Regions from separate parts of the Homo sapiens genome. Here all the other regions are linked to region 1. Evidence: promoter capture Hi-C in human tissues and cell types (Jung and others, 2019). All regions are on one chromosome and are shown on one strand. Each heading gives the region's core, a stretch centred on a gene start or on the middle of the fragment in contact. The rest is flanking DNA. Distances are from core to core; before and after follow the strand shown. Region 1 holds the start of MYOF (myoferlin). Region 2 overlaps EXOC6 (exocyst complex component 6). Region 3 overlaps EXOC6 (exocyst complex component 6). Region 4 has its middle 33 kb from the start of CYP26A1.

Region 1 (7,403 bases), core at 2,851-5,350:
GGTCTCAGAGGTCTGTGTAGTCTAATCTCAGCTAGATTCAGCTTCACAGCCTGGCTGTCCGCATGGAACTTAGGGCAGAATGGCCACCCCTGGCTCACAGGCACTCACTCCAGCCTCAATTCGGATCTGGCTCATGGAACCTGGTGTACCCGAAGGATATGAAAAATTACATAAGCGTTGTGGCTTTCATAATCTACACCTGCGCTGCTGAACATCACCAACAACCATGCACCAGGACTACAGCAACCCCCAGATCCTCCTAGTTCCTACCAGGCCCTGAGTAATTTGACAGCCTCAGAAGGGTCACTCACGGTTGAACACAACTGGGCGCTCATACCTGTAATCCCAATACTTTGGGAGGCCAAGCCAGGAGGATTGCTTGAGCCCAAGAGTTCAAGGCCAGCTTGAGAAACAGAGTGAGGCCCTGTCTCTACAAAAAAAATTAAAAATTAGCTGGGCATGGTGGTGTGTGCCTATAGTTCAGCTACTCAGGAGGCTGAGGTGGGAGGATCGCTTGAGCCCAGGAGTTCGAGACCATGATCACACCACTGACTGCACTCTTCCCTCCTGGATGGCAGGGTGAAACAGTCTCAAAAAAAAAAAAAAAAAAGAAAGAAAGAAAGAAAGGGTTTGAACACGAAAAACTGAGGTCAACTGTAAACCAGTTGGTTGTCAGTACAGCACAATCCCAAGTACAGTGTAGCTATAGCCTAATAGGGCCTCACAGTGTCTATGCGAGCTTCACCATTAACAATCACTTCCCCTGGCCATTCTTCACCGTCTTATAGTTTGAGAAGAGCTGCTTACTGCCCTGACTTTGTTTATTTACCCAAGAGGCAAAATGTTTACATATTTCTGTTAACACAGGGACTTTCTTTGATGCCGCCTTGATCTTCTGGTATGGCTTTTTCCTTTTTTTTTTTTTGAGATGGAGTCTCGTTCTATCTCCCAGGCTGGAGTGCAGTGGTGCGATCTCTGCTCACTGGAACCTCCGCCTCCCAGGCTCAAGTGATTCTCCTGCCTCAGCCTCCTGAGTAGCTGGGACTACAGGCATGGTAGGGCTTTTTCCAGTTTACCATACCCTGCCCCACTCCACACTATGAAGTGTGTCTGCCTTTGTTCCATGTTCCCTCTGATGGACAGTATTTTGCTATAAGTATCCTCAGTTCAGTCAGAACTTAATGTTACTTAATTTTACGCAGTGCTCAAAATTGGGAACACACCTGTAAAGGGTTTGCCATCACCAGGATTTTAAACCACCGACATAGACTGAAAGCAAGAAGAGTGCTGTGTTTGTTGCTATATCCCCTCCAGCACCTAAGGCAATGCATTTCACATCTTGCTGAGAGCAGCTAACTCAATACCTGGAACTAGAAAATTAGAATCTAAAAGACGGAAGGCATCTAAAGACCAGTTCCCATCATGCCACAGCTGAGAAATTGGAGACCCAGGTGGTTAAATCAGATATTGAGTTAATGTCAGCTGGAATGCAGATGTTCCTACTCTGAGTTGAGTGCCCTTTCCTCTGTCAGGTTGCTTGTTAGCTAAATGAATGAATGACTTTACCACTCGATTTGTATGAAAAAAGGAGGCCAGAAAAGAGACTAAAGTTAAATGTGTAATTGTTTGTATAGACTATATTTGCCAACTTAACTGAAGTTTTCCACTTTCAATTGATTGTTTGCATTCATTGACTTAGATATATTTTTCATCATTTAAAATGTTTCATCAATGCATACAAACTCCAGACAAATAACAAGTCAGATTTCAATATAGTATTAACTCCAATTCCTCTATAATCTATAATACTTAAATAATTACATGATCGGACTGATCCAAATATATTTTAATGTCTTTATATGTCAATGATGAAGGATGTAAAATCTTCATATTATGTCTCTATTATGTAACTGCTTCAAGAAAACAAAAAATTAATAAAACCTAACACATGTAAATAAACTCTGACATAACGTGAGTCCATGATATTCACTAGCCAGATTTTCAAACCTCATTGTCCTTTAAGAGCCCAATTTTAAGCTGGGCGTGGTAGTTTACGCCTGTAATCCCAACACTTTGGGAAGCTGAGATGGGAAGAAAGTTTGAGCAAGGGAATTATAACCAGCCTGGGCAACATAGCAAGACCCAGTCTTATTCAAAAAAATTTTTTTAAATTTTTTTTAAATCCAATTTTTGCCCTTTAGATTTTTTTTTTAACCAACCAACAATTTGCCAGCTTTTTTTTTTTTTTTTTTTTTTTTTTGAGACGGAGTCTCACTCTGTTGCCCAGGTTGGAGTGCAGTAGCATGATCTCGGCTCACTGCAACCTCCTCCTCCTGGGTTGAAGCAATCCTCCTGCCTCAGCCTCCCGAGTAGCTGGGATTATAGGCATGTGCCACCATGCCCGGCTAATTTTTGTATTTTTAGTAGAGATGGGGTTTTGCCATGTTGGCCTGGCTGGTCTCGAACTCCTGCCCTCATGTGATCCACCCACCTCAGCCTCCCAAAGTTCTGGGATTACAGGCAGAAGTCACCACACCCAGCCAGCCAGCTTTGAGTTTCATTTCTTTCATTTTCTTGCTCATCCTCAGAGAGAGAGGTTTAAGAAGAGAAATAAAGGGGAAAAACGGGAAACAGAAAGGCGAAAGGTATAGATGCCTCAGGAACTGACAGGGAGTAGCAGTCAGGCTCCTGGAAGAAACGAGAAATGTAGCAAGGCATGGTCAGGAAACACATGTCTATCCATGCTCCCACTCTCTCTGCCTTTCCCTCTCTTTCCCATCCCTCTTGCCAAGAAGTGAGTTGGCAGTCTTACCAATGACAAACAAAATAGATAAAGCCTCCACACTGAGATTTAGAAACCCCACTTTAGCCAAAACTAAGTCACTTACATCAAATTGTACCATGACACCAAGCATTCCTGTCCCCTCCCCTGCAATGGCAATCAAGTGTCATAGAAAAATAGCCTTTTAAAATTACCATGAGCCTTTTATTTTTATTTATTTTTACACCCAGGCTGGAGTGCAGTGGCGTGATCACGGCTCACTGTAGCCTCAAACTCCTGGGCTCAAGCAATCCTCCTGCCTTGGCCTCCCAAAGTTGGCTCAGGGTTGAGGAGCCACTGTGCTCAGCCAACCATGAGGTTTTTAGAGATGATCTTGTCTAAACCCTTCTCGCCTGTTTTGCAGAAAAGAAAATTGAGATCCCAGAGAAATGAAGTAACTTGCCCAAGGTCATTCAGCAGGCAAGATAGAACTAGATCCCCAAATTGCAAACTAGCTGTCCAGAGTTCTTTCCTCAATGAGCAATTTAAAAGCTACAGAATGTACAAAAAAAGCTCCCCAACAGTTTAGATATAAAAACAATTACAAAGGCACAAAAGGGCAGGAAAACTCAATAAAACTATGAACTTCACCCATCCCACCTCCCAGAAACCCAGTGACAATCAAAGCAGCGTCAGGCTGGTTCAAGGAGTAATGGTGTCTCCAACAATTTAATTGCTCTTCTTCCTCCTTTACCCATTTCTCACAGGCAGAGAAAAAATGCATCTAAGACTACTGAAACTTACTTTGAACCAATACAGATGTTTGTTGATACCTGAAATTTAGTGATTCGCAAATACGTTTTCTGCCAAGAGCTTACAGAAATCACACTCTTAGAGCTAAAACATCAGGTCATTCCATGAGTCTCAAGCCCTGGAGAAAATTAAATGCCTTCCCCAGAAACGGGTCCTCTCCCCTGTCCTGCGCAGGTAACAAACGCTGCTGGAGAGACTTGGCTTCATCAGCTGTCTAAATGCAGACTTTTCAAGAAGGTGACTCAAGAAACTAACATTCCAAAACAGGACTTCAGAAAAAGAAGAAAACTTTTTCTTACCCTTAAAAATGACAGAAACAATAGGATCCGGCTTGCCAAATTTCGTTTTAGGGATATTGCTGGCAGATTCCACAATCACTCGCAGCATGGTTCTTAGCTGGTAGAAAGCAAGTTTCAGCAAACGAAGTGGAGACTAGGGCGCTGGAGCTCCGGGTCGCACCGCCCTGGGAGAGAAGTTCTCTCCCAGTGAAGGGAGGATTTCTCCCAGGGCAAGGAAGGGGAAAAGGCAAAATGGGTGGACCTCTGGCGGATTTTACTGAAGGCAACGTGTAAACTGATACCGAACTCCCCGCGTCTACGCAGTGCCGCAGGCACAGACTTATGAATTCGGGAAATGTGGAAGTGAAAAGGACAAACCCTAAACTAAAAATAATTCCGTGCGACAAATGAAACCAACATGAATTTGGAGCTAAGAAATACGGGTAGGTCAGGAAACCACTAAAATGTTGCTGCCTTTTAGCAATGGTTCGTGAAACTGAATTAATTGATTTTTCCGTCACTGCTTTCATTCTTTTCTGAGTTTCAAGGAGTTTTAAAACTTTAGTCATTATTTGCTTTTGACTTTTCGCTGTTACTTCTCACGCCATTGAACACACCCACTCAGTAACCCTATGTTCAGCTTTTTTAAAGCAGCTAAAGGGTGCCTCTTACTGGACGGCAAACGAATGACAGCGTTTATTTCAAGTAAACGCGATCCAGGCATGGGATATATAAATAATTACATATATGTATAAATAATTATATATATATATATATATATATATATATATATATATATATATATATATATATATATATAAAGGACTGAACATAGAATTTCTTCAAAACCCCTTCAGAGGTGAGAGCTGGGCGCCTAAGTTTTCCCGGCTCTTCAAATGCTGCCAATTGCCTTCAGTGAAAATGGAGAAGTGACTCCCCACTGTTTCTGGACCTACAGCTGCCCATGGTGTCTTTCTGTCCCAGAGGGTGCATGAAGACAGTGCAGCTTGGCTGAGATCACAAGAGGCGGCCTGGGGTTAGTCAGCCAGATCTGAGTGTGAGACTCTGCCTCACCACCCTGAGCTACGTCATCTTAGCAAGTTTCTTTTCTTTTCTTTTCTTTTCTTTTTTTTTTTTGACGGAGTCTCGCTCTGTCACCAGGCTGGAGTGCAGTGTAGCGATCTTGGCTCACTGCAACCTCTGCCTCCCGGGTTCAAGCGATTCTCCTGCCTCAGTCTCCCGAGTAGCTGGGACTACAGGCGTGCGCCACCACACGCAGCTAATTTTTTTTTTTTTTGTATTTTTAGTAGAGACGGGGTTTCACCATGCTGGCAAGGATGGTCTCGATCTCTTGACCTTGTGATCCGCCCGCCTCGGCCTCCGTGGCTTGAGCTTTACTGGCTTGAGCTTTACTGGCTTGAGCCACCGTGCTGGCGAGCAAGTTTCTTAACCCCTCTCTTCCTCAGTTTCCTCATCTATGAACTGGGGATAAAGGCTGTTATAAGATAAAGGTCATAGCATAGGAGCTGGCACAAAGCACACAGTAATTTGCACATGTAAGAAGTTCATGCTTATTTGTGGTCTCACAGCGTTTCTGTTAGTGCAGGCTGACTTTAAATCAGGATCTCGTTATATTTCAGAAGAAAAGGCTAAAACTTGGGATGAAGAAACATTGGGCTTCTTTTTGCTTTAGAACACACATCAAGCAGACCCACCTGTAAATAAACATTTCAAGTACATTGAATAAGCATGACTTAACCTACAAGAATTCTTCTGTCTCCACGAGTTTCTCCAAGGCTTAAAGCAAAGAACCAATTACCCAGTGCTGTGTTCATTATTGTATTTAGTGGACATGTTGGCAGTTTTAGTGGAATATAGAGATTATTACTTTTATTTTATCTGGCTGCTTTCTATTTGCCATTTTTACTGTGAAATATATTTACAGAAAAATGCATACTACATAAACGTGACAGTTTAACAAGCATCCAGGTCAAGACAGAACATTGCCAGTCCTCCAGAAGCCCCTGGAATACCCCATATATCATATCCACCTCCTTCTCCCAGAGGTAACCACTCTCCTGATTTTTTTTTCTTTTTTTAGATGGAGTTTCACTCTTGTTGCCCAGGCTGGATTGAAGTGGGGTGATCGGCTCACTGCCACCTCCACCTCCCGGGTTCAAGCAATTCTCCTGCCTCAGCCTCCCAGGTAGCTGGGATTACAGGCGTGCACTACCACACCCGGCTAATTTTGTATTTTTAGTAGAGACAGGGTTTCACCGTGTTGGCCAGGCTGGTCTCAAACTCCTGACCTCAGGTGATCCATCCACCTCGGCCTCCCAAAGTGCTGGGATTACAGGCATGAGCCACCATGCCTGGCCCACTCTCCTGATTTTTATGGTAATGATTTCCTTGCTTTTCTTTGTAGTTTTTACCGAAAACAACAACAACAAAACAGTTTAGGTTTGCTTGCTCATGACCTTTGTTTGGTGATATAAATTCTTTTGTATGTTATGAACTTTACATACAACACATATATTCATATATATAGGTACACACATACATGTGTTCATACTTTGTGAATTCTTTGCTGTATTATGACTTTATAGAAATGGACTCATACAGAATGGATTCTTTCGTGTTTGACTTCTTTTTTCTCAGTATTATATTGTGAAATTCATTCATGTAGCTCTACTTCCTTCACTCTTGTTGCTATATGGCATTTCATTGTATGAGTTTCTGACATTTTATTTATTTATTTATTTTGAGACAGAGTCTTGCTCTGTAGCCCAGGCTGGAGTGCAGTGGTGCGATCTCGTTTCACTGCAACCTCTGCCTCCCGGGTTCAAGCAATTCTCCTGCCTCAGCCTCCTGAGTAGCTGGGATTACAGGTGCACACCACCACGCCCGGCTAATTTTTGTATCTTTAGTAGAGATGGGGTGTCACCATGTTGGCCAGGATGTTCTCGAACTCTTTACCTCGTGATCCGCCTGCCTCAGCCTCCCAAAGTGCTGGGATTACAGGCATGAGCCACTGCGCCTGGCCTCCAGATTTGATTAATTCATTCTACTACTGCCAGACATTTGGACAGTTCAGGGAATGGGGCTATTACAAACAGTGCTGTTCTGAACAGTCCAAGACTGTTCTGGCACAAATGTGCATGAGTCTATTTAGAGTCTAATCTATGGGTGGAATTGCTTGCTGGGCCAGAGAATGTATGCATTTCTTCACCTTTACAAGGTAATTCCAAATTATATTCCACAATGGTACTCTTGCCAGCAGTGTATGAGACTTCCTGTTGTTCTAAATTTTTGTCATACTTAACCAATGTTAGATTTTTTACATTTGCCCTTCTGGTGAGCATATAATAGCATCTCACTGGAGTTTTAATTTGCCTTTTACCTATTCATGTGGGAGAAAAAGACAAATGACTTCCAACCTTACATAATACATAATCAATTACAGGTGGAGTATAAATCTAAATAAGCAAGATAAAACATGTTTCAGCCCAGACACAGTGGTTCATACCTGTAATCTCAACACTTTGGGGAGG
Region 2 (7,403 bases), core at 2,030-4,529, 490 kb before region 1:
ATCTTCAGAATAATATATTCTCTATAGTTTTGTCGTTTTTGAAGAAATTGACATTTCTTTCTGTATTAAAATCATCTGTGGGAAGAGCTTCTTGTTAAATATTTAGATTCCAGTGCTTGGCCCTAGACCTAACAACTAAAATTTTTGAAGCTTAACAAGCTGCATTTGTTGCTTAATATTTGAGAATCACTGCTCTGTAGCACAGAACCTTGTCAAAGAACTGATGTGTTCTAAATTTGCTTATTCAGTAGACATAAGTGCTAAAGCTCTTGGTTTTTTAATTCTGACTAGACAACTTGATGAGAGAGACAAAAGTTTGGAGGAGGATTTGTCTAATTAGTATGGATGTAAAAACTCATGCCTAAATCTTCAAAATAAAAAATTATGGTCACATTTATGTGATAGATGAATGCCTCTAAATTAGCAACAAACACAGAAAGAACTTGCTTGTTTTAGAGTATATTCCCTTTTGCTACTTTAAACACTGATTCTGCTGTGATTAGAATACATTTTCCTTTTTTATTTGATTGCCTTGCTGACTTCCTTCTCAGACTAACAACAATGATCATGCAGCCATGTCGGTAAGTAGATATAAACTAAAGCTAGCATGTACATTAGAAAATAATGAATTTCCTGCAGGCTTATTTTTCTCTGCTTAGGTATTTAAATTAAAGGCTAATTACTTTGGCAACATCCTTGATAAATTTTTAGTTTTGTGGAAACCTAAATTTGAAGGTAATATTAGTTGTTTGTGAAGCAGTCAAGATTCTCTGAGACTAGATTGTAAAAGCACTGCACTCACCTCAAATGCATCTTAATATTAAGGTGCATTTGGAAACTTCTCTGTGGTCTTTCCTCATCTGTAAAATGAGGTATGTGGCAACATATACCCTACAGATTTTTGTGAGCTTAAATGAAATAGTATACCTAAAATGTTTAGAAAAGTGCTTGGCATATAATAAATACTCAAAAAATATTAGTTGTTATCGTTACTTGTTTCAAAGATGGTTTATGCTTTTCCTGAATGCTTTTTCTCTACTACCCTGATCCCAAACTGCACTCGTAGAAGTCTAACCCAGTGCATGACCCAGTGTGATTCATGACCCAGTGCAGGTATTTCTTTCTCATCCCAGCCCAGTATTGGTCTTCTGAATTGCCTTAGCTCTTACCTTTTTTACGGCTTTATCGTATTTTGCTTTTTTTCCGTATTTGTCTTTTTCACCTTTACTTGTGAGCTCTTGACAGAATAAGAACTAACAAGTATTCTTTGAATGTATAAATATTGAAAATTCTTCTTAGGGAAAAACAAAATCTTATCTAGCATTTGAAATGCAAGTGTTCCTAACCTATATCCTCTTCTTTCTGTTCTTATTCCTGTTACTGAAGTTCAAGTTTTGATTAATGTAATTGTCTTCTAATTGGTCTCTACCAACAGTGTCTCCTTACTTCAGTCCATCCTATATACCAGTGCTAGATTATTCTTTCTGAAGCACAGTCTAATTTTATTTCCCTATTCAGAAACATCAGGGGTTCTTGATTATCTATTGAATTAAGTAGAAATTCCACAGGCTAGCAAAAAGAAAATTATCTCAGCCTCTTTCCACATATATTTCTGAGGCCGGACACGGTGGCTCATGCCTGTAATCCCAACATATTGGGAGGCCGAGGCAGGTGGATCACTTGAGGCCAGGAGTTCAAGATCACTGCTGACATGACAAAACCCCATCTCTACAAAAAATACACACACACACACACACACACACACACACACACACACACGCATTTCTGACCATTACTAAACATGTGCATCCAAACTGGCATATTCATTGTGTCTTGGATCTATCTTGGATTTTCTGTCTTAGCTTTATTTATAACTGTAAAAATCCTGGATCTCTTCCCAAAGACATTCTAATGCAACCTCTTTCACAAAGCCTTTGCTGATTCCACTTAACTGCATGTGGATACTTTGTCTTGCTTTTATGGTCCTGTTTTTATTTTATACTACTGCTGTTTGTAGACTTGCCTTCTTTTCCTTATTGTAGAACTTACACCTCTTATGTCAGGAACTACATCTATTCATCTTTGTATATTCGGTAATACTTAACACAGTGTCTTACACAAAGTAGTTGCTTGATAAGTGTTTTGTTAAGTATGAAAGAGTGAAGAAATGGACAACATGAAGGTCATTTTCTTGTTTGTATAAAGCGTATAAAAGTATACTGCCTAAAAAATCAATTTCCAAATTGAAATTTGTCAAATAGAGAATACTTTCTAGTTTTGAAGTGAAGGTGCAATCTATTATTCTCAGGCAGAAACTTGGAAAATATCTGTATGAGAGTTTAGTAAAGATGATACCAGTACTGATTAGAAATATTTGTATTTATACTTTACTCATTTCTTGCACACCTCAGTGAAGGAAAAATACAGTAACTAAAACCACAGCTCTCTAGACTCAACTGTAAATTTAGTAGTGATCAAAACAAAAGACCCTTTAGCACCAGAATAACTGTTGCAAATTCCCAACATTAAGGAGAAATACTTTGTCCTGTTGAAGACACAGACCCTTAGGCTTTCATTTGCCCTTTTTACTCACTCGATATAATAATCATTGAGTGCTTATTAAGCTTGCTAACAGACTTCCTGCTGATGAACCATATAATTCAACATACAGAAGTGATATTCAGAAGTAAAACTGACCGGCCATCCAAAAACTCAAATTGTTATTGTCAGTTTAAGGAGGCAGGGACAGATAATGGGATCAGTTTTAGATAAATTTGCATTAGAGATTTTGAAAGTTTGGCACTTGAATATCGAGTATTTTCAAAAAGTTCTTTATGTTGTAGTTATTTCTGTGGGAATCAAAGTGGTATTTCTATGACATATTTTGATATCCATTTTTATATTATATCCATTGTTATGAGTTAATTCCAGGTATACAAAAATCAACATGAACAAACCATTGACAATATAATATATCCCTGTATTGGAAAGAGTTAAAAAAACTTTGAGACAAAATATTTGAAAAATTTGGAAATAGTCAAGGTCCACTCTTTGAAATAGAATTTTTTTCTTATTAAGCTTTTTCTTAATGTTATAAAACAGTTGATTTTCACTACTAGATGTTAATTTTTTAAAATCTTGCTTCTTAGTTGAAAATGAACATATTTGTATTTCGTAACTTTAATCCTTTTAGACATTTACTAAGTTGTCTAAGTTAGCCAAGTTCTGGCTAATCTTGGTGAGAAATTTAATTTCATAAATTATAAGTCTTAAGTTTGTATATAGCATAGCATACTTAAATATTTTCCTGATGTCAAACATTGCAGAAAACAATATTTTGAATTGCCCTCGGTCAGGGCTTAGTTGGAAGTAGTAGTAATGAAAGGGCTTTTAAAAGGAAACAACACGAGAGTTTTAGTAGGAAGCCAGTGGATTAGGAAAGACCTATATAAAATGCAATTGAAGCTGTAGACCTTAATGAGAGTTACTTCATTCATGTTAACTAACAGAAGAAAGCAAAGCCACGTTGTGTTAGGAAGGTTGAGACTGTTTTTCTGTGTTTTTTTTCTATTTTAAGTTCCAGGGTACATGTGCAGGATGTGCAGGTTTGTTATATAAGTAAACATGTGCCATGGTGGTTTATTGCCCCTGTCAACCCATCACCTAGGTATTAAGCCCAGCATGCATTATCTGTTTATCCCAATGCTCTCCCTCCCCCAACCCCAGGGAGGTTGAGACTTTGACTGCACTCAGTCTCTGAGTCATTTTTTCCCCCATCATAACCCGTTTCACAGAACATGTTATTCAAATGTGTGCCTCAGCAAATGAAGTTCTGCTTGTACTAGACTCTGAGAGTCAATATCAAGAATTGAAACCTAAATACAAATTCATGAGTGACAAAGACCTACTTTGTGCTATCTTTTTGTGTATGGCTGTTTATAATAGTCTGCCACCTACATCTATGAAAGGGAAGCCAGTTTGCTTGAGTGACATTTGTCAACTTTACTAATTAATGATTATATGTAAACCACTTCTGTTGTCTAAACCATTAGTGATTCTGGCAACTTTTTTTTTTTTTTCCCAAGACAGAGTCTGGCCAGGTGTGGTGCCTCACACCTGTAATCCCAGCACTTTGGGAGGCCGAGGTGGGCGGATTATGAGGTCAGGAGTTTGAGACCAGCCTGGCCAATATGGTGACACCCCGTCTCTACCAAAAACACAAATATTAGCCGGGCATGGTCCCTCACGCCTGTAGTCACAGCTACTCGGGAGGCTGAGGCATAAGAATCGCTTGAACCTGGGAGGCGGAGGTTGCAGTGAGCCGAAATGGTGCCACTGCACTCCAGCCTGGGTGACAGAGTGAGACTCCATCTCAAAAAAAAAAAAAAAAAACAAAAGTTAGGGTGAGTTTGGCAATATCATGGGACTGCCATGGCAGAAGCAGTGATACTTGTAGAAAGCTAAAAATTTGGATACTGCATGCCTTCTAAGGCCATACTCAAAAGATTGTTTAACAAACAAAAAGACTGCCAAAGTTTGATAAGCCCTATGATTGGGATAGGGGAAGTTTTGAGGGAAGTAAAAATACGCCATGTATTATGCAGTCCTGTGGTTTTCCCAGTTCAGGAAAAAATTTTTCAACTTTAAGATGATCACGTTCTATTTCTCTCTCTCTCTCTCTCTCTCTCTCTCTGTATGTGTGTGTGTCTTAAGAGTAGACATTTCTGTTACTGTCTCATACCCTTATGATTGGTAATTGTTGGAAGGAGAACAACCTGAGAGGGGAGAATGGGAATTTATAGTTGACTGTGGGATTGTGGTAAACTGATGTGTCCCAATTCATTCTTTCAGGGCTGGAAGTAGTTAGAGATGGACAGAAATAGAGTATAAGAGGAATATAGAGTGTAAAGAGGTATTTGGGGGAATGTTGTGGGTGTTAAAATGAGTATATTTTGATCTATGAATTTTAGAGCATAATTTCAAAAATTTGTCTTCAGGTGGGCCGATCCCCTGGGGTCAGGAGTTCAAGACCAGCCTGGCCAACATGGTGAAACCCTGTCTCTACAAAAATACAAAAATTAGCCGGGCATGATGGCAGATGCCTGTAATCCCAGCTACTTGGGAGGCTGAGGCATGAGAATTGCTTGAACCTGGGAGGTGGAGGTTGCGTGAGCCGAGATCCTTCCATTGCTCTCCAGCCTGGGTGAAAGATCAAGACTCTGTCTCAAAAAAAAAAAAAAAAAAAAAAAAATTTGTCTTCAAGGTAGTATTAATGTTATTTGAACTCACTAAGGGAATTCATCTTGATATTTAAACCTTTATAACATATCTATTCTATATTATTGAGAATCAGACATTTCAGTGTTATGTACAGTGTTCAGCCAGAAAATGAATTAAAACTGATCTTACTAGGTACAGAAATTCTTGTGCATTTGTGAAATAATCTTGGGGAAAGTTTCATATTCTGTGTTTTAGGTATCTTTTTCCTGATTTCATAACAGTATTTACATTTGAACAAGATGTTCCATATAGTAAAACTCTAGATTAGTGGTTCTTATATAAAATGGAAGAGTAACAGATTTCTTGAATTAAAATACCTGTTTTTCAACTATACCTCTTTTTTAATATTTCAATTAACTATTTTTAATTTTTAATTTTAGTGTTTCCATCTGATGAAATACCTCATTCTTTCAGTATGTGTATTTTAAAATTTAAATTTAAAATTTAAAAGAGCTACAATTTATAACATTTTAAAATACACATACTCTTTAGGAGAGCTACAATTTATAACCTTTTAAAATACACATACTGAAATGAAATTAAATTCATTAATTTATGAATTTATTCATTCATTAATGAATTAAAAATTTAATTCATTAAAATACTTCCCTTCTTTTGCTTCTGAAAAAGACTGTTTCATATTCTCATAACTGAAATTTATGTAGCAAATGATGATAGTGAGTTTGTATAAAATGATAATATTTTACTGCGTTAATTTAGGTAACTTTAAAAAGCCATACAGAATCAGAATTAATGAAGTCACTTATCAGTGTTAGGTTTAATATCCAAATTGACCATGATTTTATTTCGTTTTTCCTTTTTTCTTTGACAAGAGTTAGACTTTTTAAACAAAACCTTTTATCAATGTAAAGAATAATATGTTGTACAATATATTTGAGTCTGTGTATTTCTTTTTACTTAAGTAAAAAAGTAGTTTATTGTACAAAGTTAACCTTTTGTGGGAATATAAATAAAGAAAAATGGACTCTCCTGGAATCATTAAGGATGAGTAGACCAATACGGAAAGAATGTGATTTCAAGAGCACATTTTAACATTAAATGTACTTGAGAGAATGAAAGCAGCATTGTAAAGTGCTTTCAAATAATTACTGTTGAAATCAAACCTTTTTTTAATAGACCTTTGAAATAAGAAAATGGTAAGACACAAATGAAAACTTCAAATGAAAATTTAAATGGGCCAAATTAGTTTTTAAGTGTTCTACATTTCTCTTACAATTATATTAGAGTAGATCATGAAAACATTACTTTCAAAACAAACCAGTTTTGAGCCATAATCTAATAAACTATGTTGTGTTTTTACCTTGTTATTTTATGATATTTCACAGGAAACAGAGTGTCTTTAGCCTAATCTATGATAGTAAATTATTTTGGAAATTTGTCTTGACATACAAGCAGATGTGTTTTCTTAATTCCTTTTAAACTGAGGGTTGGTGGTTTGTGGTTTATTGTTCCTGTGATTGGCATTAAAAGCCTTATTTCACAGCTTGCAGTGAGGGACTATTGGGTAAAGAGTGGCTGTGTTCCACAAACTAAATTCAAAAAGTGTCAATCAAGGTCTCACATAGGTTACTTAGAGAATGAGTTTTCTTACTGATTTCACCAAATGTCGCCTCATGCTGTCTTTGATTGGCACAGCCTGGCAGGGAGGATGGATGAATCTGTCACCGGCTGGTTAATTGTGTTACTGGTCTCAGTCTGACATCAGGTCTTTGACTCTTAAGTGGCTCAATACAAAACAAATTAGCAGATTGTAGTCATATTTCTCATTCTATATGCTTTGACTTTGTTGAATGCAGTCCATAAATCATATTGACTGACACACAAGTAAATGATGAAAGCTGTTTTTGAGACATGAATCTAGAAAGCAGCACTGTGAAGGTGCCATGGAAGGATGCATATGGTTGACCCTTTGGGAATTTCCTAGGAGCCAAATGTCTCTTTACCACAATTGTTCTTAGAAGAAAAGCTTTTCGGTAATGCAAAAAGGATCTAATATGTCAGCAGATTCTCTTTTACAAGTCCTTTGAAATATAAGAAGTTTGTCTAAGGGTTTTCTCTCTTTGCAAGTTGTTTTCAGCCAAATGTTAGAGCAGGGTAAAAAA
Region 3 (7,403 bases), core at 2,533-5,032, 470 kb before region 1:
AAAATTTGAGCTGGGTAAAAAGTAAAAATTGAGATGGATAAGATTTCACCAAAAGCAGGGAAGGGCATTCTGAACAGAGGGAATGAGACAGACAAAAGCACTGTGATAAGACAATGTTTAGGGAATCTTCAAATAATCATATGTGGATGGACTACAAAATGGAGCTTTTTAATTAGGACCATGACATGATTAAATCTGTGTCATAGAATGTTAACTCTAGTGTCATTTAGAAATTTGTACTGGAATGAGGCAGAGACTGAAAGCAGGAAGACCTGTTAAAAGGCTGTTGAACTTTTCCATGTGAAATACAAAAAAAGCTTAACCTTCATCAGTGGGAATGGAGAGTATGGATTCCAGGCATTTTGGAGGAGGGAATACATAAAAAGAGTGAATGAGTAAAGGTACAATTTGATATGATTTAACCATCCAGGATGGATAGTTTAATTAAATTCAACATAGAAGATTTGAAATTGCAGGTATCTTACAGAGTGCTATGCTCATAATAAAAGGTCTACAGATGTTTGTTTATTGACTAAATTAACAAAGTAACAAATCAGGAACTCTCTGTAACCAACACTGGTCTCTTCTAGAGTTCTACCTTTGTTGTCAGAAAGTTAAGACCCAGCTGATACTGCTGTATTTCAACTCAAGACCATTTAACTCCTTGATCTAAACAAAACTAATCATTATTTCTTTCATAAAAATTCTTCACATATTTGATGACTGAAGAATGACCTTTTAACTTTATCTTTCTGAGCTAAGTAGTTATTTTTTAAAATGTTTCCTTGTAGGGTATTTTCACATGCCTTTTTGTAAATTTTCTTTGGATCTTTTCCTGTTTTTCTACTTTTTTAACCTATACTTGGTCAAAGTGGATACAATGTCTAAGTTCAGGAATATAGAATTATATGAACTTATATAGAACTTTTCTTTTTTAAATTGCTTTCAGATCAGTCTTAAGATGGTCTGAGTACATGTCAGGAAGTTGAGACCTTGCTTCCAGTCCTGGCTTTGCCTCTAACTTGAGCAAGTTGACTTGGACAAACCCTTCAACCATCAAGAGGCCTAAATTTTTCCCATAACACATGGAATTTGGAATTGATAAATGTTTCAAGATAACGTCCTGGTTCTAAGATTCAAAGGCAGTTAAATGTTAAGACATTGAAGAGTGTGGGGCTTTGAAGTCATATATTAATTATGTCTTCATATCTATTATGTGCATGGCATTGAGGGAATACAGTGGTAAGCAAAACAGAAAAGGTCTTTACCCTCTTGGAGTTTAAGTCCAGTGGGGAAACAGTAATTAATAACTTCATTAATAAATATGACTATAAATTGTTAAACTTTGTAAAAGTATATGGTATGAGAATACTAGGTAGGATCTATGTATGAATATAGAGGTTAACTTTTGGTTAATTTGACCATAACCATCATGCTAGTATAACTGCATGTTTGGAGACAGTCAGGAAGATAACCAGGAATACATACTTGGAAATTGCAAAAATAGCTCCCTCTGAAAGCTACATTGAACCTTTGATCTTAGTATAAATTTTATACAAGTTCAAGATAAATGTCTTCTTATTTGGAGGAGCATTTGCCAAGGTATGAGAATGATGTTCTGAATCAGTGTATGTACTTTGTTTTATATTTATTAAATACTTATTATATATTGGGTACCAATATAGATACCTTATAGATATAACCATATAGAAGAAAAGATTAATATGTCTTCTAAACAAGTTCTTACAAAGGTGTCACAGAAATTCTTCCTGTTACTAAGAAAATACAGACTATTTCCCAAGCATCAGGCAATCAGAAAGACCTATTCTATATTTGAAGTATCCAGAGTAGGTCTAGAATACATTTTTAAATTCATTCTGCCCAAATGTCTAAGTTAGGTTATTAGCTCCTAAGGGTTTAACATCTGAAATCTGTAGGTATTAGAAAAGGCATTAGAATAGCTCCAGATTAAAGAGTGCTGGCACCTATTTCAATGGTGAGTTATTGGAGAGTAGATAAGTTTCTTAATGTGAAAGCCTTGGTCTTTCTTAATTTTTGGATAAAAACTTAACCTGCTGGGCACAATGGCTCATGCCTGTAATCCCAGCACTTTGGGAGGCCACGACTGGAGAATCGCTTGAGCCCAGGGGTTCGAGACCAGCCTGGGCAAAATAGGGAGATTTCATCTCTGCAAAAAAAATTAAAATTACTCAGATGTGGTGGTGCACATGTGTAGTCCCAGCCACTCAGGAGGCTGAGGTGGGAGAATTGCTTGAGCCTGGAAGGTCAAGGCTGCAGTGAGCCGTGATCATGCCACTGTACTCCCGCCTGGGTGACAGAGTGAGACCCTGTCTCAAAAACAAAACAAAACAAGAAAGCTTAGCCAAAAAAGAAAAAAAAAAAGGATGCTGTTTATAGAGTTTTAGCGACTATGACCTCTAATTCTAGCCTTGAAAAAGGGCTGTGCCCCATAATAAAAGTATTAAGGCAAAATCATCTGGATGGTAAGAGAAGAATATTTCAGTGCCTTTTTAAAAAGTAAGCTGGATGCTGTTACACTGTTTGGATACCTGAATTTGTTCCTGGTTTGGATACCTGAATTTGATACCTAACCTATCTGATGGAGGATACTTTGCCCAGGTTTAATTCCAAGAAATGGAGAAAACTAGATACTACTTTATATAAAAATGAGGTGATGAAGGTAGAGTAACAGTTGGTCCTCGAGGTTTGCATCCCACTGTTGCTGACCGCATACAGCAGAAAATACATCTAAAAGCCAAGAATCCTAACTCTCCTGATTCCCAGGCATAAGTTCTTCACCACCAGAAAAACCACTAGATGGTGCTCTTAGTCATTCCTTCTAACGACACAGCTGGTTCACATGGGATACTTTGTTTGTCTAATAACAAAGTTTGTTAAACAAAACTTGAGTTCTTACTAGCTACTTTAATATTCAGATCTAGATAGAAATGAAATTACAAGAAGTATCTTCAAATAGAATGAATATTGGCATTCATATTCAGCCATTTATTTAGTTACAGAATTATTCCATTTTATATGCACCTGTGTGGTCATTTGCAAGCAAGATCTTAAAACTTTAGCTTAGCCTCCTCCCCTTTCTTTCAGTCTTTTGTCAAGCTTCTGATGTATTCCCTCTTATGACTCCATGGGCCCTTTTTCTCCCCCACCCTCTTTACCCCCTGACAATTCTTCCTACCCTGTATGGATGTTTTCTATATCTACATTGTAAACAATCTACATTCTCTGCCTTATGATAAAGATAACTGTCTGCCTAGAACAAGATTTTTCAAGGACTTCTGAGTTTAATTCCCTCTGAGTTTAATTTCAGAGTAGGTTTTATATTTTCCAGTCAAGATAAATACTTATGGCCTGACATCTTGGCAATTTTCCTTCCCCCCTCGTAACAAACCCTTTACATTTTGCATAGATCCTGAGGGGAAGGGCCTGTTTTCCTACTCAAAAATTTTTTTTTTTTTATATATACAAATAACTCATGTTTTGCCTACAGGTATTCTTTGTTCTCTTAAAACTTCATAGATTGCCGGCTGGGCGCAATGGCTCACATCTGTAATCCCAGCACTTTGGGAGGCCGAGGTGGGTGGATCACCTGAGGTCAGGCGTTCAAGACCAGCCTGGCCAACATGATGAAACCCCGTCTCTATTAAAAATACAAAAAAATTAGCTGGGTGTGGTGGCACATGCCTATAATCCCAGCTACTCTGGAGGCCGAGGCAGGAGAATTGCTTGAACCCGGGAGATGGAGGTTGCAGTGAGCCGAGATCACACCACTGCACTCCAGGCTGGACAGCAGAGCGAGACTCCGTCTCCAAAAACAAAACAAAAACCCAACTTCATCGATTGCCAATTTGGAAGATAGTTTTGTTATAATCACAGCTTACCCCGCATACATTATTTTTTGTTCCCACTTTCATCTAAATTGATTCAAACTAGTCTTCTTCCAAGTTAGGCTGATATAGCAGAGTTTTACTCTATTGTTATAATATACCTTCCCAATAAGATCAGACACCTCCTTCTCTAATCTAAGAATATTTGAAAACTTGGAATCAGGCCGGGTGCGGTGGCTCACGCCTGTAATTCAGCACTTTGGGAGGCCAAGGTGGGCGGATCACCTGAGGTCAGGAGTTTGAGACTAGCCTGGGCAGCATGGTGAAACCCCTTCTCTTCTAAAAATACAAAATTAGCAGGGCCTGGTGGTGCATGCCTGTAATCAAAGCTACTCAGGAGGCTGAGGCAGGAGAATCTCGCTTGAACCTGGGAGGTAGGGGTTGCATTGAGCCAAAATTGTGCCATTGCACTCCAGCCTGGGCAACAGAGTGAGACTCCATCTCAAAAAAAGAAAAGAAAAGAAAATTTGAAATCATTTATTATTGCAGAAAATAAGAGGAAATGAATATCCTGAAGTTATTTTGTTTATTAAAAAGGAAATAGTCAAATTGGAGGCATTAAGAGAAAAAAACAAAGATTTGGAATCTCTTAAAAAAGAACACTTCATAGTCTGGAAATGATTTTTACATATCTTATTGGGAAACCAGGATCAATGTGTGTTATTTAAAAATACCCTTAAAGGCATGGCTAAATGACAAAAACAAAGACACCATAATAGGGGGGGAAGTGGGCATTATTGTTTTTAAAATTTTAAAGATGGTCCAAGGGAGGAGAATTAGGAATCCCCAAAATATGACAAATTATATACAAAATGAGAATCTGAATGAGCCAAAAAGTAATTTGACGATAGTACTTCTAGAGATTTCAAAAATTAGTCATCAATTCTTTAAAAATTTAAAAGATTAAAATTGACCCCATGAATTATTGGGACCATAGACAATATTAGTAGAAATGATTTGTATTACTATTTATTCATTCAACACACATTTATTGACTGTTTCCTAGGTGACAGGTATGGTGTATGTAACTACTTCCCAGGAGCTTCTTGTTTAGTGGAAGAGCTCATGATTTAGTTTTAATTGAAGAAACTATTAGGAGTATTTTCACCCACCCTAAATTACTTTTATATAAATACACTAAGTGTATACAGTTATGTTCTTGATTTGCACTGTTAAATAAATACATATGGCTAGGAAATTTAAATTAAGCTGGATGCAGTGCCTCATACCTGTAATCTCAGCACTTCGAGAGGCCAGGGCAGGACGACTGCTTGAGGCCAGGAGTTTGAGACTGGCCTAGGCAACATAGTCCCCCTGTCTCTACAGAAAATAAAAAAAATAACCAGACATGATGGCACCTGTAGTCCCAGCTACTCAGGAGGCTGAGAGGGGAGGATTGCTTGAGCCCAGGAGGTTGAGGGAGGCTGCAGTGAGCTGTGATGGCACTCCAGTCTGGGCAACAGAGTGAGACCCTGTCGCAAAAAAAATTAACTAAAATAAAACCAAAAATTAAGTTTAGCATGGATATTACATTTCATTATTGCAGAACATTCTCTTGGACAGCACCATTCTAAATCTAATCAACAAGCTACATAATATATCACTATCCAATACTGGATGACATTCCTTAGAATTTATTTATGGTTCTGTTTTTCTTCATTCATTTAAGAAACTTTCATTGAATACTCATTATAAGTCAGGCATTGCGCTAGGTGATAAGAATGTAGAAGTGAAGTTACCGTCCCTGCTCTCAGGGAGTTCATGATTTAGTGGGAAGACCCAGACAGATAAACAATTACAAGGCAGCAAAGTGAGTGCTGAAGTTAGGCTGTGCACAGGAAGTTGCAGTGAGAACACAGAGAAAGGACATAAGCCAACCTGCAGGGATAATGGAAGTCTTCCCAAGGAAGACGATGATTGAAGGATAAATAAGAGTTTACCCAGATGGAAAATAAGAGGAAGGATGCTGTAGGCAGAGGGATCAAAGCATCATGGAAAGAGAGTGGTATATGCATGGAAGTACAGGTAGTTTGGTGTGGTATAGAAACTAAGGTGCCCCTAGGGAAATGATGAGATGAGGCTGGCAGATAGACAAAGGCTAGATTGCAAAGGACCTTAGCCTTGTTTTATTTGAAGATGATGGGGAACTATTGAAGGATGTTAAACTGTGAGGTGGCACAAGTCACATCTGTGTAAATCCTACTGGAAGAAGTGGATGGAGAGGTTGCACCAGAAGCAGGGAGATCAGATAGGGTGTGTTTCAGTAATCCAAGCAAGAAATGATGATAGTTTGTACTAAGGTAGAAACAAATTCAGACTCAGGAGATATTTTGGGAAGTAGAAACAACAAGATTGACTGCAGTTGAGTTTTAAAGAAATAAAGGGAAAAATACGAAGCTGTGAATCAATAGCATATCATTACGAATGTCCTCTGTGCCAGATGATTATCAGATCACTAAATTGCCTTCTACCCCTAAAAAAATTTGAGAAAAAGCCCTGAGTGTTATAATCTAGTGAATTTCACTTCCATATTGATTAGATTCTTATGAGAGATGTGATAAAAGATGAGAGACTGAATACTTAATCAGATTCTGGATTAATGGAGTAAATGCCAGAAAACCTGAATTAGTTATATAATCCCGGGCAAGTCACTTTCCTTTTAATTTTTCTGCCCTGTAAAATGAAGGACTCAGCTGGGTGTGGTGGCTCACGCCTGTAATCACAGCACTTTGGGAGACCGAGGCAGATCACTGGAGGTCAGAAGTTTGAGACCAGCTGGCCAACATGGTGAAACCCTCTCTCTACTAAAAATACAAAAATTAGCCGGGCATGGTGGCATACGTCTGTAATCCCAGCTACTTGGGAGGCTGAGGCATGAGAAACGCTTGAACCTGGGAGAAGGAGGTTGTAGTGAGCCAAGATTGCGCCACTGCACTCCACCCTGGATGACAAAGCAAGACTCCATCTCTTAAAAAAAAAAAAAAAAAAATGGACTCGGCAACTTTTAAACTGAGTCTTTAGGGGACTGTTGGACGTGTTTCAAAGAGGTTGTCTCTTTCAGTTGCAAGATTTTATGATCCATCATCTGCATGCCCTATTTACTCAAGTAAGTTATTGTGATGCTCAGAGCAGATGGTGTGTGAGAAAGTGCTTAGTAAAGTATAAAGTGCTATATAAATTTATAGTATCATTAATTTTGACATTGAGCTCTTTGGTTAAATGATAGTATCTTCAACAGGAACCTAGGGAGAAGAAAAATTATTTTAAGATTATTTTTAATGTAGAAAAATTCTGAGCATTAAGTAGATAATAACTATATGTCTAATTGAAATTGAGCTTATTTTTGTGCCTGATAAAATGAGTCTCCCTGCATCATAGAAAGTCTTTATTTATGAGTATATGTGTATCTATCCATGGTGATGGTAGAAGCTATGGTAACATTTACAGCCTTGGTTGAGAACCACTAGGGATTTATGG
Region 4 (7,403 bases), core at 3,261-5,760, 370 kb before region 1:
AGAGAACACACTTTGTTTGACTTGAATCCTTCCAAATAAATTAAGACTTGTTTTATGGCTCAGCATATATTCTATCATAGTAAATATTCCATGTGCAGTTAAGTGCATTTTGCTGTTGTTGGGTGGAATGAATGATCTATAAATATGAATTATGTCAAGTTGGTTGACAGTGTTATTTGATTCATCTATATCCTTACTGATTTTCTGACTTGTTCTAGTGATTGTTTTTAAAAAGTGTGTTGAAATCTCCAACAATAATTGTGATTTTACTTCTCCTTTTCAATTCTATCAGTTTTTGCTTCATGTATTACAAAGCTATATTAATAGGTGCATAAACAAAATTAATTATGCCTTTTTGATGCTTTGACCCTTTTATCATTATGAAATAACCCTCTTTATCTCTGGTAATTTTTTTCTCTGAAACTTACTTTTCTACTTTGTCTGAAATTAATATAGCCACTCCACTTACTTTTGATTAGTGTTAGCATGGTATATTTTTTCCATGCTTATACTTTGAGCCTTATTTGTTCTTTACCTTTAAGGTTGGTTTCTTCTAGGCAGCATATTATTGCATTTTGCTTTTTTACCCAGTCTGGCAGTCTCTGCCTTTTAATAGGGATATTTAGACCATTTACATATAATGTGATTATTGATATGGATAGAGTTAAATCCACCATTTTGCTACTTATTTCACTTTATATTTTCGGTTTTTTGTTCCCCTTTTCCTCTTTTTGAAAACCTTTTGAATTAACTTTTATTATTCCATTTCATTTCAATAGTTGGCTTGTTGTAACTCTTGGTTTTGTTAGTTTGAATTTATGCAGTCTATCTTCACATGATATTATATCACTTCCTATGTAGTATAATAACCTTACAACAATATACCTCGGATTCATATTTTTACCTTTAGGCCTTTATGCTCCTGTTGCTATATATACATATATATATATATATATATATATATATATATAAACATTTTATTTGGTATAAGTATACACATTTAAACATGTTAGAAACCTCTTGATATGTTGTTATTTTTTAATTAAACCTGTCTATTATCAATATATGTATAGCATTTAGTACAATCTATAGTATACAGGATACCTCTCAGGCTTTGCCCAACTACCCTTTTCTTAAGTAGACTCTTCCTTCCATAACATCTTTTGTAATTAGCTATTATTTTAAAAATTTTGTCTTTCATCATTCCACCACTGGATCATGAACCGGGACAAGGTCAGTCTTGTTAACATATTTAAAACCTCATACGGGGCCTAACAAATAAATATTGTTGGATGTATGAAAGGTTATTTTCCAAAGCTTTTAATATTCACTTGATTTTTTTCTTACAGCAAAGCTGTGCCAGTTTACATTTTCACCAGCTTTGTGTGAATTGTTTACTTTTCACTTAATTGCCAATGATATTGAGTATGGTTGTGTTAAAGAAATTGTTCCATATTTTGAGGGTGTAAACTGATAATTTTAAAAACTTGTGCTCTTTGTCTTTTTTGAAGAGGGAATCTTTTACATTGTATAATTACTTCTATTTTTACATGTTTTCTGTTTATGTTCTTCATTCTTATTAATAAAAATAAAGATAGAATAAGGGTTAAAAAAAACAAACCCCAAAACTATTAATTATTTTTAAAGATATTTGCGTATTAAGAACAAATCTTATATAGCTAACATTGTTGGTGTTCTTTGTTCCTTTGTGTAGATACATAGTTATATCTGGTATCACTTACCTTCTGCCTGAACTTTTTTTTCCTGTGAATAAATTATGTTTCATGAAATCAAAGTGATAAAAAAAACATTTCAGCCTGGGCTCATTCTATCCAAGAAAAAGAGCGAGGAAACAGCTCGTAAAAAACAAGATAACGTAGGCTGTGCGTGGTGGCTCACACCTGTAATCCCAGCATTTTGGGAAGCCAAGGCGGGTGGATCACAAGATCAGGAGTTTGAGACCAGTCTGGCCAATATGGTGAAACCCCGTCTCTACTAAAAATACAAAAAAATTAGCTGGGCATGGTGGTGCACGCCTGTAATCCCAGCTACTCGGGAGGCAGAGGCAGGAGAATCACTTGAACCCAGGAGGTGGAGGTTACAGTGAGCCAAGATGGCGCCATTGCACTCCAGCCTGGGCAACAGAACGAGACTCTTTCTCATTAAAAAAAACAAAAAAAAAAAAACAAAAAAAAAAACAAAAAAACAAGATAATGTAATCAAATGACACTCATAAGACCCCACACCTCGTAATAGAAATACATAATATATGTACTAGAAAAATAACTCTTACCATTTATTCAATACGTAACATTTCCCAGGCACTGTGCTAGATGCTTTACAATTATGATTTCTAATTTTATTTTTATTTTTTGAGACGGAGTTTCATTCTTGTTGCCCAGGCTGGAGTGCAATGGCACGATCTCAGCTCACTGCAGCCTCCACCTCCCGAGTTCAAGCGATTCTCCTGGTTTAGACTCCTGAGTAGCTGGGATTACAGGCGTGTGCCACCATGCCAGGCTAATGTTTTGTATTTTTAGTAGAGACAAGGTTTCACCACGTTGGCCAGGCTGATCTTGAACTCCTGACCTCAGGTGATTCACCCACCTTGGCCTCCCAAAGTGCTGGGATTACAGGCATGAGCCACCATGCCCGGCCTGATTTCTAATTCTAAAAACCATTCTCAGGTAAATGATTAAAGCTTTTAAAAGTTTTGTGGTTTTTTCAAACAGAAGAAGAAAATGATGCTTATTAAAGTTGAATGACTCATCCAAGGCCATATAGCTGGTCAGCAGCAGAACTGGGGTTTGAACCCAAGTTTTTCTTCCTCACCATACAGAATTTACTGTATAGAAAAATAGCTGAATAAATTTCTCTTGTTATTTTAGCCAAATTTCATATGCAAAATCCCAGGAGTGGCCTACTATTCTGATGTGTCAATATCTATCTTTCATCATGTGAATAAACAACAGAGAAAATCCATTGTGCTCTTATGAGTTTGGAAAACAAAGTGTTATCACAGATATTCTTGTCCTCAGTTCCAATGATTTTGAACCTGTTATTCAGAACAAGAAGCCGCCTGATTCAAATACAAAACAAAACATTCTATTTAGTGCAAACACAAAGATCTGAAACTCCATTTTAAAGTCATTTCTGTACAGTAAGAATCCAGCCTGCATCTGTCAGTGGTAGAGAGAATAGTAAACAGAGGAGTCCCTGAAGAGGTCACAGTGTTGACAAAGTTCAACATGATAGTGGAGTCTGCACAAATACAGGGAACAAAGCTTGGCCCTTCCACACAGCTGTGAGGCCTTGACTTCGTTTTAAGTCAACGTCATTTCATGTCTCACATATTTCCCAGTGTCTGCATGATGAAATACCACAGTCACCAGGAGGTCCACTTTTCTGCAGTCTTGTGTAGATTTTCCTGCCACCCCAAAACCCAAGGAATGTCTGCCATGGAGCACACCACCACTGCCTGGTACTGAGAAGTCTTTTTGGTGATTCAACCCAGACCATATTTCAACAGATGGTTCCCATACGGGAAGGACTGACCTGCTCCAGGAAGAAGCTCTAGGCTTTATCCGCACTTTATACTTGGTATAGGGTACAAGGTAATCCAGAGTTGTGATGTGCAACTGAAACCTGTGGGTCTTAGTGAATTTTCCGAAGCAGGTTCCCAGCAACACCAGCTTGTCCCTGGAGATACTGGCAGCCAACTTCAGAATCTTCTCACTCACATAGCGTAGGTGCCGTCGGGCCTGTCAAGTGGCAGCAGATTCTCCCTGATGTATTTCATGGTCTTCTCAAACATTATATGGGCCTGCTCTTCAGCCAAGTCCACATTTTCCCGCTAGAATGGAACACCGGATCCTCATGCCCCATTGGCAGGGAAACCTGAACTTTTAAAAAAACCTTTCATGTAATGTGGGTCTGTTCTAATTAAGTCTTTCAGCTTTTGTCTGCCTAATAGTCTTTATTTTACTTTTGTTTTTGAAAGACATTTTTTACCAAGTAGAGAATTTTAGATTAATAGTTTTTTTTATTTCAGTATTTTAAAGATACTGCTCCACTGTCTTACTTTTTTCGATTGTTTCTAACAAGACATTTATTGCTGTCCCACCTCTGTTTCTCTGTACATAATGTGGGGTTTTTTTTCCCTCTGAATGCTTTTTAAGATTTTCTCTTTAACACTGGTTGGGAGCATTTTGATTATAATATACTTCCAAATTCCTTGTGCTTGGAGTTTGTTGAGCTCCTTGGATTTGTGGATTTATACTTTTCATCAAATTTTGTAAAATTTTAGCCAATAATTTTTTTTTTTTTTTTGAGACGGAGTCTCGCTCTGTCACCCAGGCTGGACTGCAGTGGCGCAATCTCGGCTCACTGCAAGCTCCACCTCCTGGGTTCATGCCATTCTCCTGCCTCAGCCTCCCAAGTAGCTGAGACTACAGACACCCACCACCACGCCCGGCTAATTTTCTGTATTTTTAGTAGAGACAGGGTTTCACCATGTTAGCCAGAGTGGTCTTGATATCCTGACCTCGTGAACCGCCTGCCTTGGCCTCCCACAAGTGCTGGGATTATAGGCTTGAGCCACCGCACCCGGCCGCCAATAATTCTCTTCAATTATTTTTTCCTTTCTCTCTTTCCTCTCCTTTGGGGACTGCTTGAAGTCATCTCATGGCTCACTGATGCTGTTTGCATTTTTAAAATTCTCTTTTCTTTGTTTCATTTTGGGTAGTTTTTATTGCTATCTATTTGAATTTACTATTTTCTTCTGCATGTCTCATCCGCTATTAATCCCATCCACAGTATTTTTTTTTCCTTTTTGTTTTTCTTGAGACGGAGTCTTGCTCTGTCACCCAGAGTGTAGTGCAATGGTGTGATCTCAGCTCACTGCAACCTCCATCTTCCAGGTTCAAGCTATCCTTCCACCTCAGCCTCCTGAGCAGCTGGGAGTACAGGCACGTGCCACCACGCCTGGCTGATTTTTGTTATTTTTAGTAGAGACAGGGTTTCACCATGTTGGCCAGGCTGGTCTCAAACTCCTGACCTCAAGTGATCCGCCAGCCTCAGCCTCCCAAAGTGCTAGGATTATAGGCATGAGCCACTGCACGCAGCCCACACTATTTGTCACCTCAGACATCGTAGTCTGCATCTGTAGAAGTTCAGTTTGCGTGTCTTCTCCCAGCCCTCTGGTATTATCTTCCTTGTCTCTGCTTAACTTTTCGAACACATAAAATATAGTTATAATAACTGTTACAATGTCTATCTCTGCTAATTCTGACATCTGCATTAGTTCTGGGTTGGTTTAAACTGGTAATTTTTCTCCTCATTTTGGATCACATTTTTTAGCTTCTTTATTTTACCTGGTAATTTTTAATTGGATGCCAGACATTCTGAGTTACATCTTGTTTTTTTGTTTAATAAGATATTTTATATTCCTATAGTTACTATATTCCTCTTACTGTCTGGGTCTTTCCAGACTCTTAGCTGTGTCTCCTCGATTGAGGGGTCTGCTGGATTCTGCTTGAATTACTCCTCCATGTGCTGTGGCCTGGAAACTCTTTCAAGTCCGTAAGCTGGGGCGGTCATAGGCTTCCCGTCATTTGTTCCTTATCACGCAGGGATCACTGTCCTTTGTTGCCTGTTACCAAGTGTCCTGGAAACGACCGTTTCATATATTTTGTCCATTCTTTTTGGTTGTTTCAGGCATGGAGGTAAATCTGGTTTCCATTACTCTTTCTTGGTTGGAAGTAGAAAGAAATCTCTTTTTATTGATGTGAAATTCAAATAGCATAAAAGTAACCATTGAAAAATGAACGATTCAGGGGCATTTAGTATATTCATAATGTGGTGCAAGCACCACCTCTGTCTAGTCCCCATTTTTATCACCCCAGAAGGAAACCTATTACCCCTCCCTCAGTCCTTGGCCTGTGCCTTCTCTATGGATTTAAATATTCTGGATATTTCATGTAAATAGGATCCTATGATATGTGATTTTTTGTGTCTGGCTTCTTTCACTTAACATAATGTTTTCAATTTCAGTGCTCACCCATGCTGTAGTATGTATCAGTAGTTCGTTCCTTTTTATTGCCAAATGATATTTCTTTCATTCTGTGTTGTAAGGGCCAAGGGAAAACTCCTCCTTTGCCCTGTGAAATTTTGCTGAAAAATCAACTGACAAAAGGCAAATTAATAAGAGAAAAGGCACACAGATTTATTAATGTGCACATGGGAGAAAACCACAGAGTAATTACCCCAACCCCTCAATAGGGTTCAGAAGCTTATACAACATCTTGAGGTTGCAGAAAGAATAACGGCTTGGATTATGGCAAAACAGGTTATGGGAGGGGGAGAAGGGGAGGCATGGCTAGCATACGTGGTCTTGTAATGTAAATGAAACTTCACAGGTAGCAGCCCTCAGAAAGAATAGATGGCAAATGTGTCTTCCAGACTTTTATTTTTTTATTTTTATTTTTATTTTTTTCAGTGGAGTTTCGCTCTTGTTGCCCAGGCTGTGGCACGATCCCGGCTCACTGCAACCTCCACATCCCAGGTTCCAGCGATTCTCCTGCCTCAGCCTCCCGAGTAGCTGGGATTACAGGCATACACCACCATGCCCAGCTAGTTTTGTATTTTTAGTAGAGACGGGGTTTCTCCATGTTGGTCAGGCTGGTCTCGAACTCCCAACCTCAGGTGATCCACCCACCTTGGTCTCCCAAAGTGCTGGGATTACAGGCGTGAGCCAACATGCCTGGCTCTTCCAGACTTTTAAAGGTGTCAGACTCTCAGTTAATCTTTCCTAGATTAGACAAAGGAAGGCCTCAGAAAAAGCCTGGCTGCATCTGTGCAGATTTTCTCTACAGATGCCAAGTCTCTTCCACAAAAGGCAGCTTTGCAGGCCTACTTCTGTTTGCAAGCCCTCTGAACAGCTATCTCAAAATACGTCAGATTTTTGGTTTTGGGTGCACTATTTTGATTTCCTTTAATGTATATGCCATGATTTGTGATTCATGTATCTGCTGATGGACATTTGGGTTGTTTCCACCTTTCAGATATTGTGAATGCTGTGGCCATGAGCATGCGTGCCTATGTGTTTGTTTCAGTACCTGTTTTCAATTCTTTTGTGAATACACCTGGGAGTGGGATTGCTGGGTCATATGATAATTCTATTCTTAACTTTTTGAAGAACTGCCAAATTGCTTTCCACAGTGGCTTAACCATTGCACATTTTCATCCTCTTTTTTTAAAAAAAACAATTTTTGGGGGGTATGAATTTACATACCTTAAATCACACACATTTTAAGTATACAGCTCAATGAGTTTTGTCAGATGAACACATTTGTATAATCACCATCACAATCAAGAAAGTAAACTTTTCTATCACCTTAGAAAGT

The links. The method cuts DNA at HindIII sites, captures the fragments that hold promoters and counts their contacts. A contact is called where the count stands out against the background at its distance.
Region 2: a fragment that was not itself captured here is called in contact with the fragment with the promoter of MYOF in region 1 in 1 of the 25 tissues and cell types used here (H1 embryonic stem cells).
Region 3: a fragment that was not itself captured here is called in contact with the fragment with the promoter of MYOF in region 1 in 2 of the 25 tissues and cell types used here (lymphoblastoid cells and mesendoderm cells).
Region 4: a contact is called between a fragment that was not itself captured here and the fragment with the promoter of MYOF in region 1, in 1 of the 25 tissues and cell types used here (H1 embryonic stem cells).

Annotation. Positions count from the first base shown.
Region 1 is chr10:93,478,234-93,485,636 of GRCh38, forward strand. It overlaps MYOF (myoferlin), which reads right to left and starts at 4,101. Exons shown (of 54, transcript NM_013451.4): 1 at 3,874-4,101. The coding sequence starts at 3,961. The HindIII fragment of the contact is 15,058 bases long and covers 1-7,403 here.
Region 2 is chr10:92,987,062-92,994,464 of GRCh38, forward strand. The region is part of intron 18 of EXOC6 (exocyst complex component 6); the gene reads left to right. Among named protein-coding and RNA genes, the nearest start is that of CYP26C1, 70 kb to the right of the region's middle. RefSeq lists an enhancer at 3,861-3,950. The HindIII fragment of the contact is 3,785 bases long and covers 1,388-5,172 here.
Region 3 is chr10:93,003,805-93,011,207 of GRCh38, forward strand. All of the region lies in intron 19 of EXOC6 (exocyst complex component 6), which reads left to right. Among named protein-coding and RNA genes, the nearest start is that of CYP26C1, 53 kb to the right of the region's middle. The HindIII fragment of the contact is 4,871 bases long and covers 1,348-6,218 here.
Region 4 is chr10:93,103,546-93,110,948 of GRCh38, forward strand. It overlaps the pseudogene NIP7P1. Among named protein-coding and RNA genes, the nearest start is that of CYP26A1, 33 kb to the left of the region's middle. RefSeq lists an enhancer at 3,147-3,441. The HindIII fragment of the contact is 5,003 bases long and covers 2,010-7,012 here.